Linked DNA regions of Homo sapiens: region 1 is linked to region 2. Evidence: promoter capture Hi-C in 16 types of primary human blood cells and fetal thymus (Javierre and others, 2016). All regions are on one chromosome and are shown on one strand. Each heading gives the region's core, a stretch centred on a gene start or on the middle of the fragment in contact. The rest is flanking DNA. Distances are from core to core; before and after follow the strand shown. Region 1 holds the start of NDUFB11 (NADH:ubiquinone oxidoreductase subunit B11). Region 2 holds the start of KDM5C (lysine demethylase 5C).

Evidence for each region. Contacts are between HindIII fragments. The CHiCAGO score rates a contact against its expected background, and 5 or more counts as called.
Region 1: a contact is called between the fragment with the promoter of NDUFB11 here and the fragment with the promoter of KDM5C in region 2, in 2 of 17 cell types (naive CD8 T cells and erythroblasts). The highest score is 5.9, in naive CD8 T cells.

Annotation. Positions count from the first base shown.
Region 1 is chrX:47,143,416-47,146,628 of GRCh38, reverse strand. NDUFB11 (NADH:ubiquinone oxidoreductase subunit B11) reads left to right here and starts at 1,927. Exons shown (of 3, transcript NM_001135998.3): 1 at 1,927-2,156. The coding sequence starts at 1,950. It overlaps RBM10 (RNA binding motif protein 10), which reads right to left and starts at 1,408. Exons shown (of 24, transcript NM_005676.5): 1 at 1,144-1,408. RefSeq lists an enhancer at 1,115-1,384. The HindIII fragment of the contact is 2,886 bases long and covers 1,583-3,213 here.
Region 2 is chrX:53,223,334-53,226,578 of GRCh38, reverse strand. KDM5C (lysine demethylase 5C) reads left to right here and starts at 1,372. Exons shown (of 26, transcript NM_004187.5): 1 at 1,372-1,839. The coding sequence starts at 1,690. It also overlaps a transcript of IQSEC2 not described here. RefSeq lists enhancers at 1,051-1,100, 978-1,272, 1,111-1,490, 1,731-1,830. The HindIII fragment of the contact is 15,929 bases long and covers 1-3,064 here.

The DNA.
Region 1 (3,213 bases), core at 678-3,177, 6.1 Mb after region 2:
CACTGTGCTCTTCTATTGGGATGGAGCAGCAGCCACTTCATCCAACCCTCAGGGCTGTGGTGAGAACTCAGGGAGTCCTGAGAACCCTGTGACCCAGCCAGAGGTCAGGATGAATCCCAGATCTTCAGGCCCCACCCTCTGAATAAGAAGCAGGTAAAGCCAGGCAATAATAGCACCTGCTCAACACTAGGTTGCTGCCACACCTTTGCTCTATGCTCGTGCACACACATACACAGACAAACACACTCCAATTTTCTCTTCCTCCTCAAGCCACAGGGAACCCGAGTTACCTGCTCCCAGGTGGGCAAGAGTTAGAATCACACAGAGGCACTGGCGTCTGAGAGCACAAAAACCTTCAAGAGACTCTGGCAAAGGGGCCAGAGTCACACAGTAACATCCACCACAGCCAAGGGCCAGTCACAGACACGAGCCCCAAATAACTACGGGCCCACATCACAGAAGGAACACACAGTAAGGACCACAATTACACAGTGGGTCCCCTTTCCATGGATGAGCGTCAGTGTCACAGATACAAACTCCCCAAAAGAAGGGGCAATGAGTCACACACACATTCCCTGCATGCCCCTTCCCACCCAATAAGTGGGTTAGGGTCAATCAAAAGACAGTCGTCCCCCAAGCCCCGCCCCATGGATAAGGATCAGAGTCACAGACCGCCCCCCCTCAAAGGGTAAAGACCAGAGTCACATCCCCCCTCCGATCCCCCAGGAATAGAGACCAGAACCACAGAATATTTCCCCATGGACCGATAAACACCAGAGTAACACAGAGCAGCATCCCCTCTCCTATGCACAAACTCAAAGTCGCAGACAACCGCTTCCCCACTGATAAACTTCGATGTAGCCGACACAGTGATCCACAGTAGCCCACTCCCATCCGTCCCTCCCTTCCCCCAACCCGCATGCACCCATCCCATGTCCCAGTCGCGCACGCGCCTTTGCTCACACCAAAAAAAAAAAAAAAAAAAAAAAAAACCAAAAAAAAAAAAACCCTCCCGGGTTGAGACATTGCACCAACCCCTCCGTTCCGCGCATCTCCCCCGACCCGAAGTCCGCCCTCGCGCCTCCTCTACGTCCCCGCCCCGGGCCCCTTACCTCCGCCCCCACGACCAGCGTCGACGCTCACCTTCTCGGCCCGGGCTGTCAAGGAAGGGCTCCCAGACATCACCTCTGCCCGCCGCCACCTCCTCCAACTCTCCCAGCTCAGCCGGAGCCGGAGCGCGCAACAACCAAGTCCGAGACTGGAGGCAGATCGGGGGGAGGGGAGAAGCGCCAAGCGCGCTGCCCTCCCAGGGAAACTCACTGCCGCCTACTCCCAGCCGGCCACAGTCACCAGCTCAAAATGGCGACGACGAGAAGGGAGTCGGCGCTCCGACCACCATCCACCTACTAAGGAAGCGCGCTCTGGCCGGCCCCGGCGATTGGTCACCGCCCGCTAGGGGACAGCCCTGGCCTCCTCTGATTGGCAAGCGCTGGCCACCTCCCCACACCCCTTGCGAACGCTCCCCTAGTGGAGAAAAGGAGTAGCTATTAGCCAATTCGGCAGGGCCCGCTTTTTAGAAGCTTGATTTCCTTTGAAGATGAAAGACTAGCGGAAGCTCTGCCTCTTTCCCCAGTGGGCGAGGGAACTCGGGGCGATTGGCTGGGAACTGTATCCACCCAAATGTCACCGATTTCTTCCTATGCAGGAAATGAGCAGACCCATCAATAAGAAATTTCTCAGCCTGGCCGAAAATGGTTGGCCCCACGAAGCCACGACAACTGGAGGCAAAGAGGGTTGCTCAACGCCCCGCCTCATTGGAAAACCAAATCAGATCTGGGACCTATATAGCGTGGCGGAGGCGGGGCGATGATTGTCGCGCTCGCACCCACTGCAGCTGCGCACAGTCGCATTTCTTTCCCCGCCCCTGAGACCCTGCAGCACCATCTGTCATGGCGGCTGGGCTGTTTGGTTTGAGCGCTCGCCGTCTTTTGGCGGCAGCGGCGACGCGAGGGCTCCCGGCCGCCCGCGTCCGCTGGGAATCTAGCTTCTCCAGGACTGTGGTCGCCCCGTCCGCTGTGGCGGGAAAGCGGCCCCCAGAACCGACCACACCGTGGCAAGAGGACCCAGAACCCGAGGACGAAAACTTGTATGAGAAGGTGAGAGGCGGGGGGGGGGGGGGGGGTAGTGGGGACGGAACCCCGAAGGGGTCAGTCCGGGATCGGCAGATGGGGCGCTGTAGAGGACGTTCTTAGGCAGTAGAGGACTGCGCGGCCGGCGAAAGCCTAGAAGACTTGGGAATTTTGCCTACCTTGTGTTCCTCCTTTGTCTCTCGGTATCTTCGTTCCAGGGCCAGAGGCAGGATTGGTTTTATTTTGCAGACAGAAATCACACCTCAAGTGGACAGCGCTCAAAACACGTTAGAAGCAGTATAGTACAACGATAATACTAAACACCGATATGGCACTTGCTCGTTGCCGTCTGCATTCTTTTTTTTTTTTTTATAGGGACGAGATCTCGCTATGTTGCCCAGGCTGGTCTCGAACTCCTGGCTCAAGCGATCCTCTCGCCTCGGCCTCCCAAGGTGCTGGGATTACAGGCATGAGCCACCGCTCCGGGCCCCGTCTGTGTTCTAAACACTTGACATGCATTAGCTCATCTTATACTCGAAACAAACCCCATTTCGAGGTGGGCTCTATTATTATACTCATCCTACAGATGAGGAAACTGAGGCACAGAGATGTTAAGTGGATTGCCCTAGCTCACATAACTGAATACATGGTGGAGGTGGAACTGGTATTTGAATTTAGGGCTACCAGGTCTGCTGTGCTGTATTAATAGCAGACGCTGTGAAATCAGGCAGCACTGACGGTTACCCACCCGTGTGATCTTGGTAGCATAAACCCTTGGTGCCTCAGTTTCTTTGTCTGTAAGATGGGAACAGTAATAGGACACCTTCTAAAAAATAGGACACCCCACCTGCCTCATGTAATTAAATGAGTAAAAATGGTCAGAACAGCAGCTGGCACTTCGTAAGTATGTACTCAGCACTAGAATGTGTTTATTATTGCCATGTTTCACCTCACTGAGATATTGTGAGGTGTTTCTATGTGAAAAGACTGGCACATAATAAGTACTTCATCAATACTAACCTCTGGTTAAGGGGCTTGGATATATAGGATGCTTGTTCATTCTGTAAATATGTATTGAGGGCCT
Region 2 (3,245 bases), core at 123-2,622:
TTAATATGTTAAACAGGAAATGTTTGCAAAAAGTATTCATATTTTTCAGTCAATATATACTAAGGACATTTATTCATTTTTCTTTTGTTTACTCAACATTCATTTACTGCTTAACATGCCAAGTGCTAAGGATGTATAAGGCCACATGGTCCCTGCCCTTAAGGAATTCATAGTCTGATGGGGGAAAACAAAATTACTTAATCAGCATGTACGCAAGTACTCAAATATTTGCACAGTAGGTGTTCAAACTATATGCAGTAGGTCCACAGCTGATGAATGACACAGATGATCCTCCAATCAGTAGATGCCTGATGTATATGTACAAAGTACTGGTTTGATGATACTCATTCAAAGTACTGTAGTTGCAATGAACCTATTCAGAAACTGCTCAAGGAACATGCACACGATAGGACTAAATGTACATACAGTTGGTACCAAATGCACAGGGGCTATACACAATAAATACAATAAAAGTACACGGATGTTTGGTAAGTGCACTGTAGGCTCACAAATGGGCAAACAGGTGTTTTACACAGTTGACACTGGATAAATACGCCGTTGCTAAACATCCAATAGTTAAAGTATACATACACACAGGCTTATTTTGTAGGAGTATATGCCACAAATGTGTACATGGTAAAAGTGAATACAGAACAGTTGAAAGCGTTCATTAAAATGCTGACTCCCAGTGACTTTTGGGGGGTAAGAATCGAAACCCCATCTCTCTACCTGTAACCTTGGATGAAATAAAGATTTCCTTCCTTTACTTGGGACTCAGAATCCTAAAAATCCATAATCCCCGGGGAGTGAGCAGCTTCCTGCCTTCCTTATTTCAAAGCCCCAGAGGTGTCAGTGTCTAGAGCTGGAGCCTAGTACATCTCCCCCCATCCCGCGGGCCAGCATAAGGGGTCCTTTGCAATCAGGCTCCCAGAGCCGCCTTCCGCGGCCCATACCGTTAAGACCAGGGAGAAGGGACAGAGAACACTGGTGCGGGGCTAGCGACCTGGTTGAGGTCTGCGGGGGAGTGCCGGTTTGACTCCACCACCCACGGACACCAGCTCCTCTTCCGGTCTCCATAACGCGCATGCGCATCACTGGCCTTTAAACGTGCACCGCCGGTCCATCCGGAAAGACGATCCGGCAAACTAATTACAATCTTGTTCCTCCGCCGTTGCAATGAACTATTTTCTCTCAGTCCGGGGTGGTACTTTTGAGTAACCCCTTCCAAATAGAAACCCATACCAGCCTATTTAGCTCGGTCTCCACTATATGAAGGTTTCCTAGGGCTTGGTGTGACGCAACGTATACGAGGCTCGGAAGGACACCCCGCGGAAGGATCCGGTTTGTTGTGGTGTGGGGAGGGGAGACGCTGACAAACCAAGATGGCGGCGGCGGCGCTGAAGGCCGCGGCGTTTGGGAGGTAACTGTGGTGGCGAAGGCTGCGGTAGTGGGGAGGCAACCACACAGTTTGGAAGAAACGGAGCGGGACGAAGAGGCGGTAGCAGTAGAGTCAGCCTGAGACTCTCAGAGCACGACGGCCACACGCCCCCTTAGGCCCTCGGCGGGCGGCGGCTGCCCCGCTTAGGGCCTAGCCTCCGAGCATTGCCTCGGCTTCAAACAGCGGCGGCGCCATGAGTCCTTAAGGGCGGTCCAAGCCTCCCGATCCCTGGCCCAGACCTCGGGCCCACCATGGAGCCGGGGTCCGACGATTTCCTACCGCCACCGGAGTGCCCGGTGTTCGAGCCTAGCTGGGCCGAGTTCCGAGACCCTCTTGGCTACATCGCGAAAATCAGGCCCATCGCAGAGAAATCGGGCATTTGCAAGATCCGCCCACCCGCGGTAAGCCCCGGGGCCGGTTTTCGCCGGCGGCGAGACGGAATGAAGCAGTAGGATAGCCAGCGGCGAAGTCTGGGGCGGAGGGCAGCTCGAGGTGGGGAGAGGGGGTGGCTGGGACCGTTGTGGTTGCGGCGCGGATCGGAAAAAGGGTGTTGGGCCAGGGGTCCTCTCGTGGTGTGAGGCCCACAGGTGACCTGGAGTCAGAGATCCACCCCCACCCCGGCCCTTCAGAATCACTCCGGGTTTAAGACAGGGATTCCTAGTGGGCCGGAGGGAGTTCACAGAGAGGCACCCCGCACATCTCTTAGCCCGGGCCACCTAGGTCGAGGCTGTAAAAATAAGACGTTTCTCCAATCTGTTGTCATCACTTCCTTTAAGGCAGGCAGCATAGTATAGTATTAATAGAAAGATCGCAGTCCTGAAGGGAGACAGACTTGAGTTCAAAACTCCACTTTGAAGCTGAGCAGCTGTGTGACCTTGGGAAAGTAGAAGTAATCTCTCTGAGCCCGTGAAATGGATCCCAGAAATGGTTATTTAGAGGATTGAATTAAACTAGGTAGCGTCTGTATGTAGTACGCACTAGATAAGTGGTAATTATTGTGACTGTGAGGGTGTTTGATGTGGTCATTGGTTTATTCCTATGTAGGTTGACTCATATTTACTCATACCTTGCCAGGCCAATTCATCTATGATAATATCCTGGCCTGCTGGACCAGTCAGGAAATCAGTCTCACAGGGATTGCTCTGTCTCCCTTGAGGTGGGTTCAGGGAATTGTCCTCTTCTTTTCCTCGTTGAAGGCAATGTCAAGGCCTTTTCTGCACATCATCCCGCAGACTTGACTTCCTATGGAGATGTTTGGACCGGTCAGCTTGGTGGTGGGGTGTGAGTCCTTCTCAGAAGATTTCTACTCTCCTCTGGTCCAGGATGTAGGAGATCCCAGAGGATAGGGCACTCTTGGGCCCGCAGAACAGAATGGAGCCATGGAATTCTGTCCCTTTTGGAACATGATTGCCAGGGGTCAGCAACAAAGGCCATAGCTTTCCTCCTAGGCCTGGCTTCAGGCTAGAAGTCTCCCAAGGGCTAGGGCAAGCTGCTGCCTTGCTGATATGGTGGAAAAGTGATGATAATGTTCAGTGATCAGTTGGGATTCCAAGGGCAGAAATTGAGCTTTGCTGGAAAAGGGTGTTTTTGAGTGGGTGTCTCCTGGCTGAAATGGAATAGGAAGCTTCATTCCCACCTGAGGAGGGCACCACAGGCCTCCTTATCCAACTTGGTGCTTTCTGGTGCTCAGCCACAGATCTAGGATGGTTTCAGATAGATCCTCTAGGAGGTGTTGGGTAAGCGAATTTCTTCCTTCTTGGAGTCTGGCCACAGATTTCTGAGGTATCCTTGTCCATGGTGAGGGAGT